2 separate regions of the Homo sapiens genome follow, and region 2 is linked to region 1. Evidence: promoter capture Hi-C in 16 types of primary human blood cells and fetal thymus (Javierre and others, 2016). All regions are on one chromosome and are shown on one strand. Each heading gives the region's core, a stretch centred on a gene start or on the middle of the fragment in contact. The rest is flanking DNA. Distances are from core to core; before and after follow the strand shown. Region 1 holds the start of IDH2 (isocitrate dehydrogenase (NADP(+)) 2). Region 2 holds the start of CRTC3-AS1 (CRTC3 antisense RNA 1).

Region 1 (4,603 bases), core at 1,596-4,095:
TTTATTTTTTATTTTTGTAGAGATGGGGTCTCACTATATTGCCCAGGCTGGTCTGGAGCTCCCAGCCTCAAGCAATCCTCCCACCTCAGCCCCCCAAAATTCTGGGATTACAGGTGTAAGCCACAGTGCCTGGCCTTCCTTAGCTCTTGTACCCATATATCATACTAGTCAACATCTATCTTGCTTACTGTCTGCCCCCTCCCACATCAGAATTTGAGCTCCTAAGGGTTTTGAAAGAGTCTCTGCTGGTTTTATTCCCAGCTCTATCCCCAGCACCCGGCATGGTGTCTGGCACAAAGTAGGAGTATACTACTTTTGTCAAAGACATAAATAAAGGTCAAGTTGAAGTCAACTCCATCTGTGGTCAGGGCTGCCCTGCCCTCACCTTCTGTTTCACTGAATGTGTTTCCTCCCCTCTCACCCATCTGGTATGCATTGCCACACAGGGGCCAGTGAGTTCTTACCAGCAGCCTGCACCAGATGTACACGGGTGGCATCTCTCTCCAGCAATAGGCCCCATGCCCTGAAGAAGCTTACAACCTACAGTGTACTAATATTTGCAATCTGCTGGTATTTTTAACATGGGTTTACAGAGTATAAACCCCAGGGAAGGCCACAGACCCTGGCTTCCAGTAATCTGAGAGCAGTTTCCAGCACCTCATACCCTGAATGGAACCAGCCCAAGGGCCCTCAACTTCACACAGAAGATGTGGGAGCAGGCCTCAGCCATTCCAAAGAGGCTTTTCCTCAGTACCTACTAGGCCTAAACACAACCACCCCAATCAGCTCTGGCAGGGCAGCTAGGGCCTTATCTGACGTGGCAGAAAGATCTGCACACTTAAGGGGCAAGAATTAAGAAGTTTCTGGGTTAGGAGTGAAGGAAGGCTAGATAAGTAATTCTGCCACTGAGCCGTTCACAGAACTGGTCCGCACTGCCCCAAGCTCTAACTTACCAGAAACATCACCAGCAGTCGCTGGAAGCCTATGGCGTTGCAAAATAGGAAAAGATGCGTGCAGGAATTACCAGGCAGCAAAGACACGGGGCTCTTTTAGCCCCAAAATATTCTTTCCTTGTCATCAAGGGGAATGCCAAGTATTCTGTCTCCAGCTGCGTTGCCAGGTAACAAGCTGGCAGAGTCGCAACTGTAGAGTCTGATGTCCAACTCCAACACCAAGCAATTTCCCCATTCATAACCAACCCACATGGGGACTTCTAGAAGGGCCTGCAACTGACTGCTTTTTCTGTATCCAAATTCAGGACCCTTAAAAGGCGCTTTGTGTTCCTGTTTGTGTGTGTTTTTCGGGTTGTTTGTTTCTTTTTTTTTTTTTTACCATCAAGGCAGAAAAAAAGGGAGAATTAAAGAATGTGGCTAACTTCCACCATATTTTTGCTGAAGGTGGTGTGCTATATGGGAATCTTTGGGTCCTGGGGCACTTGGAACCTGGGAGTTGTTGGGCAGATCCCTGAGGTAGATTCCCAGAGGTACAAAAGCAGACATGCCCCTTTCTCCTTGGCAGGGAAGGTAGGACTGGGGCCCAAGCCTCCCTACCCCCCCGGCTCTAGTCAGCTGCTCCCACAATCCGGTTAACCATTACCTCCTCTGGCCAGGTCAGGGCCAGCGGGCCCCATCCCCTCTTCCTCACTCTCCTGGCTCACTGCAAGGGGCTCCTGGCCAGATTAGGATAGGGGTTTCCATGGCAACAGGCATTAGGCAGGGCCAAGGGACCTACATTGTTCCCTGCCTTTTGTAGCTGTGTTGGGTAGCCAGGGTGAGGGGGCAGGCCGATGCCCACACGCCAAGCAAGGCAGCCTGCGTTGGCAACGGAGGCTCGGGCTAAGTCTTGCTTATTACGACCCGACTACTGTCTTCCCTCCTAAGCAGGGAACTAAGGGTACCCAGAAGCCGTGGGAACGATTCCGCAAAGTGACATTTTGCGCGGGCTGCCAGGTCTCTGCGGCGAGTGAGCCAGGCAGGGAGGGCATGTGCCTGCCAAGGCAGGTCAAGTCAAGGAGAGGCCCCAGGATGGAGCCTCAAGTGCAGCGATGAAGGCGAAGGGGTGGGGGTGGGGGCGGCCAAACAAAAGGGGAAAATTAAAAAGGACGCTCCTCCAGCTGTCGTGTAAAAGGCTCCAAAAATAGCTGACGTGGGCCTGGTATCAGCGCGCGCCTGGCTGAAAAGGAAGGGGAAGTGCATGTCTCCCGCCTCCCAGCCTTTGTCTGAGCAGGGGCCGAGCCACGACCCTCCCTCTCGCCAGGGGAGCGCGCGGGGTGCTCCAGCCCCCCACGGGTGCTCGTCTCGTTCCAGGGGCGCAGGGCGGGCAGGCCACCCTTCGGGTCCGGGACACTCTCAGGACCCCCTCCCGAAATACCTAGGGGCGCGCGGCAGCCCCGAGCCCCCGCCCGCGCAGAGCTGGCCGTCGCCCGGGCCACCAGTTGCCACCGTCCCTCAAGTCCCCACCCCAGCGCCTGGCACGGCCGGGAAGCGCCGGGCGGGGGAGCGCGGAGCGAAGCTGCCCCGCGGCCCTTTGTGCGCCTGACCCCGCCGTCCCCGGGCTGCGGGCTGGCGGGACGTGCTTCCCGGCCCCAGCCTGGGAAGCCGCCACGTCGCAGCTGGGGGCGCGCGCCTGCCTGGACCCTCCGCGCGGCACTCACAGTGGCGCCGCGGCTGCTCTTGCGAGGTGGGGGCTGTCAGGGCCGCCGGCGCCCAGGCCGGCCGCGAGCCTGAGGCTCTGCAGAGCGAGCGCACGACCCGCAGGTAGCCGGCCATCCCAAGCTGGAGAGCGAACGAGCAGGGCGGGAGAGGTCCGAGCGCGCGCCGCTCCTCCCGGCTGCCTGGCCGCGGGCTAACGCTGGGCCTGGCGGGCGCTGGCCGCGCGGGCACCACCGGGGCGGGGCTGCCGGGCCTGCCGCCCCATTGGGCCTTGCCGGGGAGGAGGCGGGGCCAGGGCCGCCGACGCCTCCAGCGTCCCGCGGGAGCCGGGACCCGGCGGCCAGGCCCGGCTGGTGCTTCTCTGGGCGCCGCTGAAAGCCCAGCTCCGCAGGAGCTACAGGCGTGAGACCCACCGGGACCCGCGAGCGGGATCAGGGCTGGGGGATTAGCAGAGCCGCTTGCGAGGCTGACCCTCTCCAGGATGCCCCATGTAAACCTGGATGTCAGTTTCTGACGCTTTAGCTTAAACCCAAAAGCCAATCTGAGCGAACTCTTGCTTCCCTCGCCTGCCGGGCTGAACCCAAAGGCGCATTAGCCCAGTGCGGCTGCTTCATTCTTGAGCTAAGACCGCCGGCGGCGTCTGCGCCTCCGCGAGTCCGCTGTCAGGTCCAGCTGGTGTAGAGAGAGTTGAAATCTCACTTTGGGCCGGGCGCGGTGGCTCACGTCTGTAATCCTAGAACTTTTGGGAGGTCGAGGCAGGCGGATCACTTGAAGTCAGGAGTTCGAGACCAGGCTGGCTAACATAATGAAACCCCTGTCTCTACTAAAAATACAAAAATTGATCGGGCATGGTGGCGCGCGCCTGTAATCCCAGCTACTCAGGAGGCTGAGGCGGGAGAATCACTTGAACCTGAGAGGCAGAGATTGCAGTGAGCTGAGATCATGCCACTGCACTCCAGCCTGGGCAACAGAGTGAGACTCCGTCTCAAAAAAAAAAAAAAAAAACCACGAAAAAAGAAATATGATTGGACCAGAAGGCCAATAACCTGAGTGGGGAAACCCAGCAAGTCCTGTCCGTGTAGATTCTTCTTGACCTTTCTCTGCAGCATTCCTTCCTTCTGAGTACGGGGCAGGACTCTCTCTGGGATGGAGGGGTCTTAGGACCTGCAAGCAAACAAGGTAGGTCAGATAATTTATGGCCAGTTTTTACCCAGAAATGTGTGGGAGAAAGAGTAATATTTTTGGGTTCGATGTCTGGCTTTGGGGGAGAAGGGCTCTGGTTTCTATGACCTGCCTTGAGGAAGAAGGATTCCAGTTTCTATGGCTGGCCTCGGAGGAGAGTGAGGGGCCAAAGACAGGAGGGAGGGAGAGGGTCAGAGAGAGCTGCTCCTGAGGCCTGCATTTTGGGGTGTTGTTTTCTGAGACCCTAGAGTAGTCAAACAGCCACAGTAGAAACAGTTCCATTTTTGCCTGTTTGCATATAAAAGATGGGTTTGTTTGTTTGTTTTAATTAAAAATAGAGATGGGGGGATCTCACTATGTTGCCCAGGCTGGTCTCCAGCTCCTAAGCTTAAATGATCCTCCCGCCTCGGCCTCGCAAAGCACTGGGATTACAGGTGTGAGCCACTGCACCTGGCCACAAAAGACAGTTGTAATTGATTCTGCCACAAACAAAGTTTCTCTCTTCATCTGTTTTCTTAAACTAAGACACCAGCTGAGGGCTGGGTTTTATTTGGAAAAACCTGACCTCTTTCCCTTCTCTGCTTTCCCAGTCACGCTAATTCACTCCAAATAGGAGCAACCTTTCTCTTCTGTGTTCTCAGCCCTCCCCTCCACTACCTCACAGTCAACATTGCCAGGTGGAGCTGGACCAGGAAGGTGACCTTCAACTAGTGACTTCAAAGCTCCCCTCACCAAGTCCTAGCCGGCAGAACTACTACTCTGGCCATGGG
Region 2 (5,138 bases), core at 1,427-3,926, 610 kb after region 1:
CCATGCCTGACTGATTTTTTTGTATTTTTTAGTAGAGACAGGGTTTCACCGTGTTAGCCAGGATGGTCTCAAATCTCCTGACCTCGTGATCCACCCACCTCGGCCTCCCAAAGTGCTGGGATTACAGGCGTGAGCCACTGCGCCCGGCCCTATATACTCTTTTATCTACCTCTTTTTGTGCTCAGCATAGTGTCTGAGCTTCATCTATATTGTATGTACCAGTAGTTCATCCTCCTATTACTTTGTAATACAGAAAAAAACTGAGAAAAGCTTTGAAATGGTCTAAAACAGATTACTGGGGCCAGGCATGGTGGCTCAAGCCTGTAATCCCAGTACTTTGGGAGGCCAAGGCAGGCAGATCACCTGAGGTCAGAAGTTCATGACCAGCCTGGACCACATGGTGAAACCCCATCTCTACTAAAAATACAATAAATTAGCCAGGCGTGGTGGCACGTACCTGTAGTCCCAGCTGCTCGGGAAGCTGGGGCAGGAAAATCGCTTGAACCTGGGAAGTGGAGGTTGCAGTGAGCTGAGATCACACCACTGTACTCCAGTCTGGGTGACAGAGCAAGACTCCATCTAAGACAAACAACAAAAAAATGATTACTGGGTGTCATTGAAAAACAAGGTGCCCAGCTGTCCAGCTTACTTTTCTAGGATGTCTGATTCTATGAAGACTCTAAACCTTTCACTGTCTTTGAGCTACAGAACAACTATACAAACTATAGACACTTCTTGTCTATAGAAATGCAAATTGTGGCCGGGCACGGTGGCTCATGCCTGTAATCCTAACACTTTGGGAGGCCAAGACAGGCGGATCACCTGAGGTCAGGAGTTCGAGACCAGCCTGGCCAACACGGTGAAACCCTGTCTCTACTAAAATACAAAAAGCTAGCTGGGCATGATGGCGGGTGCCTGTAATCCCAGCTACTCGGGAGGCTGAGACGGGAGACTCTATTGAACCTGGGAGATGGTGGTTGCGGTGAGCCGAGCTTGCGCCACTGCACTCCAGCCTGGGCGGCTGAGTGAGACTCCGTCTCAAAAAAAAAAAAAAAAAAAGAAATGCAAATTGTTTTCAGTAGAATGCAATTGATTACTAAGCTGTGGATTTCATCAGTTCTGCCAGTTTTTGTATATATTTGTAGTTATTTCATTATTCCTCATTTGACTATGTGTGTGGTACTTTGAATTTTCCATTGAAGCAGTTGTAATCTTTCTGGATATCTCATTCATTAATGAGTTAAATAAAATCTCTAACATTTATTTTATATCTGTATTATATTTGATATTAAAATTATTCTTCAACAGTAGTATACAGTTATATGAATAAGCTGCAATTTATCTATTCATCTATTGGTGGACATCTGGGTTTTTTCCCTTTGGCTATTATGAATAAAGCTGCTATGAGTCTTTTGGTGAATAAAGGCATTCATTTTTTGGGGTAAATATCTAGAAATGGGATTTCTGGGGTATAGGGTAGGGGTAAATTTGATTTCAGTAGAGACTGATGTTTCCAAAGTGGTTGTACCATTTTACACTCCCATCAACACTGTATGAGAGTCCCATTTCTGCATCTTTGCAACTAAGGGAATTGTCAGTCTTTTCATTTCAGCTATTCTATGGAGTGTTTAATAGTATCATATTTTGGTTTCAATTTACCATAGAAGATTTTCAGGAGGGAGGTAACTTGAACAGATTTTTACATTTTAGAAAACTCTTTCTGCGTATTATGTGGAGAATGATTATTTGTATACCAAAGTTCATAGCAGCATTATTCACAATAGCCAAAAGGTGGGAATAACCAAGCATCCATTTATATGGATGAATGGATAAACAAAATGTAGTATACATGTATAATGGAATATTATTTAGCCTCAAGAAGGAAGAAATTCTGATACATGCTACAACATAGATGCTCCTTGAAGACATTATGCTAAGTGAAATAAGCCAATCAGAAAAGAGCAATTATTGTATGATTCAATTTATATGCGGTACCTCGCACTTACAGACAGAAAGTGCAATATCGGCTATAAGGGGTTGTGAGAAACGGGTAACGGGGAGTTACTGTGTAACAGGCAGATTTTCTATTTGGGATAATGAAAAAGTTCTGGAGATGGATAGTGGTGATGGTTTCACAACAATGTGAATGTACTTAATGCCAGTGAACTGTACACTTAAAAATGGTGAATTTTATGTTAGATAGATTTTATCACACACACAAAGAGGAGGGAGGGCGGGAGGGAAGGAGAGAGGGAAGGAAGTAGAGAGGGGAGAAGAGAGGAAGAAAGGAAAGAAAGTAAGATCTGGCATCACAGGGCCCACATTCCCGCGTGTCAGCAATAGGCTGAAACAGAAGCATGGTTTCTCACGTGTCCATGGAGGCATCTGAGTGTGTGCCCACTTTCCCGGTTCAATGACAATTTGCACCTGCTCGTGTAGAGGGGTACGGGTGAAACAGAGACCAGTATTATTAAGGGGATGGAGAGGAGAGACCGCCAAAACATCGCAGAGACACACCGTCGGAACCAAGAGAATGGGGTGCAGACGCCTGGCTTGGCCTGTGGGAACTGGCAAGTCTCAGCTCTCAAACGCCCGGGCTTTTCAACCCGCCACAGCCGGGTTCCAGCTGCCTACTTCCTTTAAAGCCTTCACCGACTCTAAAACACCAAAAACAAAGACCCAACTAGCTCCGGAAGCCCGAGATGTAACCGTAGTCATCTGACCCTCCCGTCCGGACTCTGATTGGGCTTTGGAGATACGCGTCCCTCCCGGCGCTGTACGGCGACCCCGCCCCAGCAGCCTGAGGGGGCGGGAACAGATGTCCGAGTGCGACAGTATTGGTCGGCTTCCCCAGGAAGCAGCCAATCGGAATAGGCAAGCTTCCGGCGGGAAGTGAGCCAGGGCTTGGCGCGGCGGCCGTGGTTGCGGCGCGGGAAGTTTGGATCCTGGTTCCGTCCGCTAGGAGTCTGCGTGCGAGGTGAGTACCGCGCGCGTAACTACGGGTCGGTCCGCATTGATCTAGCCCTGCTCTGGCGGCCCGGCCCGGAGCTGGAGGCCGCTCGGGTTCTTCCGTTTCCTGCACTGGTTCGCCTCGGCCCGCTGAGTCCTCTAGTCTGGCCAACATCCTGGGAGGACAGCAGATACATAAATACGTTCCCAAATGGGGAAACAGAGGCCCGGGGCGGGGGCGAACTCTGCCAAGGTCTCCCGGGGCGTCGGAGGCCGAGCATGGGCTAGGACCTGGCATGTTGTTGCCCATATACTCCAGTGCGTAACATGATGCCCTGCACAGAGTAATCCCAGCCCAGACCTCTGGCACTACTACCTCCGTGTCCCTCCTGAGGAACAACGAAAACACTTTGTACTTTTTCTGTGGCCTTCCATAATCACGAGCTGGGCTACTCTTGTTTTTGAGTGTCTACTGTGTGCCATGTTCCTGGCACCCTTGATCTTACAACTGTAGCTTTACGATATCCCAGCAAAGCGAAGTGCTTAAGAATACTGCATCAGATTGCTTGGGTTCGAATTCTGGCTCCTTCACATTTAGCTCTGTGTCTACTGCACGTTACTGAAACACTAAGTGTCTTGGTTTTCGTCTGTCATATGGGGGAAATGGTCTCTTCTACTTCCTGGCGTTTTTGTTAGGATTAAACGACTTAATATATGCAATAATAAATGCTTCGAAGGCTACCTGTTACATAGTACACAGTAAGGGTTCTGTTATCATTACCCAGAGAAGCGGATGAAATTGTCCCCATTTTAGACATGGAGAATCTGAAGTACAAAGAGGTTGTCTCCGTACAGAAAGAGCATTTGGTGATTAAGTGCTAGAGATACAGGATTTGAACTAAGCGCCTGATTTTAAAGTATGTCCCACAACATTAGGCTTTCTCCTATAGCCCTCACCTGTCCTTAGGTCACACAGAACTTTAGGTACCTCATGGCGTGAGATGGAGCAGGTGACTGACAGCTCCTTGTGCCACCCATGCAGATAAATAACACTGGTGTGTCACTGTCAAGATTAAGGGACAGGAATTCGAGAGACTGCATGAGAGATCAGAAGATGAAGAAGCGGGTAGGCAAAAGTATTCTGTTTGGGGAATAGTAAATAGAATTAATTAAATCAACATTTTGTTAGCTGGGCTGCTTATACTGTCAGACAGTAGCTTATAATCTACTGGGAAGAAATGAAATTTCTGGGTCCTGTGTCACTTTCAATGCCACTCACCATGACAGGTACCTTATAAGTATAGTTTACAGTCCTATCAGTAACCTGGAGAAGTAGTTATTTCCTTCGTTTTACTGAGGAAACCAAGAGTTAAAAAATCAGGAAAAGTGTTAGATGTGCAGTAGAACATCATCATGCTGGGAAGTTCTACACATCCGCTTCAGGACAGGTGGTATTACCTATGAGCAGGAAGGGAAGGGAAAAAGGTAAGGGGAATGAGTGATAGTTTATTGTTTTGATTTTTAAATTTTTATCTGTTTTTTCCTTTTTCATAGTCATTCCTGGAATGAGTGAGTTTGTTTTTGTTTTTGTTTTTGGGGGATGGAGTCTCGCTCTGTCGCCCAGGCTGGAGTGCAGTGGCGCGATCTTGGCTCACTGCAAGCTCCGCCTCCCGGGTTCATGCCATTCTCCTGCCTCAGCCTCCCAAATAGCTGGGACTACAGGCACCCACCACCACGCCCAGCTAATTTTTTGTATTTTTAGTAGAGACGGGGTTTCACTGTGTTAGCCAGGATGGTCTCGATCTCCTGACCTCGTGATCCGCCTGCCTCCGCCTCCCAAGGTGCTGGGATTACAGGCGAGCCACCGCGCCCGGCCATGAGTGAGATTTTAAATATATCTGAAATGAGGCCAGGCACAGTGGCTCACACCCATAATCCCAGCACTTTGGGAGGATGAGGCGGGCGAATCACCTGAGGCCAGGAGTTCGAGACTTGCCTCACCAACATGGCGAAACTCCCTCTCTATAGTAAATACAAAATTATCTGGGCGTGGTGGTGTGCGCCTGTGGTTCTAGCTACTGGGGAGGCTGAGGCACGAGAATCGCTTGAACCCAGGAGGCTGCAGTTAGTCAAGATTGCACCACTGCACTCCAGCCTGGGTGACAGAGTGAGAGTCCGTCAGTCAATCT

The links. The method cuts DNA at HindIII sites, captures the fragments that hold promoters and counts their contacts. A CHiCAGO score of 5 or more calls a contact.
Region 2: the fragment with the promoter of CRTC3-AS1 here is called in contact with the fragment with the promoter of IDH2 in region 1 in 1 of 17 cell types (fetal thymus); the score reaches 5.2 in fetal thymus.

Annotation. Positions count from the first base shown.
Region 1 is chr15:90,099,623-90,104,225 of GRCh38, forward strand. It overlaps IDH2 (isocitrate dehydrogenase (NADP(+)) 2), which reads right to left and starts at 2,846. Exons shown (of 11, transcript NM_002168.4): 1 at 2,654-2,846. The coding sequence starts at 2,768. It overlaps IDH2-DT (IDH2 divergent transcript), which reads left to right and starts at 2,510. Exons shown (of 3, transcript NR_149130.1): 1 at 2,510-2,756; 2 at 3,758-3,830. RefSeq lists enhancers at 1,272-2,127, 2,128-2,982 and silencers at 1,517-1,566, 1,627-1,716, 2,207-2,276, 2,597-3,056. The HindIII fragment of the contact is 3,688 bases long and covers 531-4,218 here.
Region 2 is chr15:90,714,464-90,719,601 of GRCh38, forward strand. CRTC3-AS1 (CRTC3 antisense RNA 1) reads right to left here and starts at 2,677. Exons shown (of 4, transcript NR_120372.1): 1 at 2,518-2,677. It overlaps BLM (BLM RecQ like helicase), which reads left to right and starts at 2,883. Exons shown (of 22, transcript NM_000057.4): 1 at 2,883-2,977. The HindIII fragment of the contact is 2,609 bases long and covers 269-2,877 here.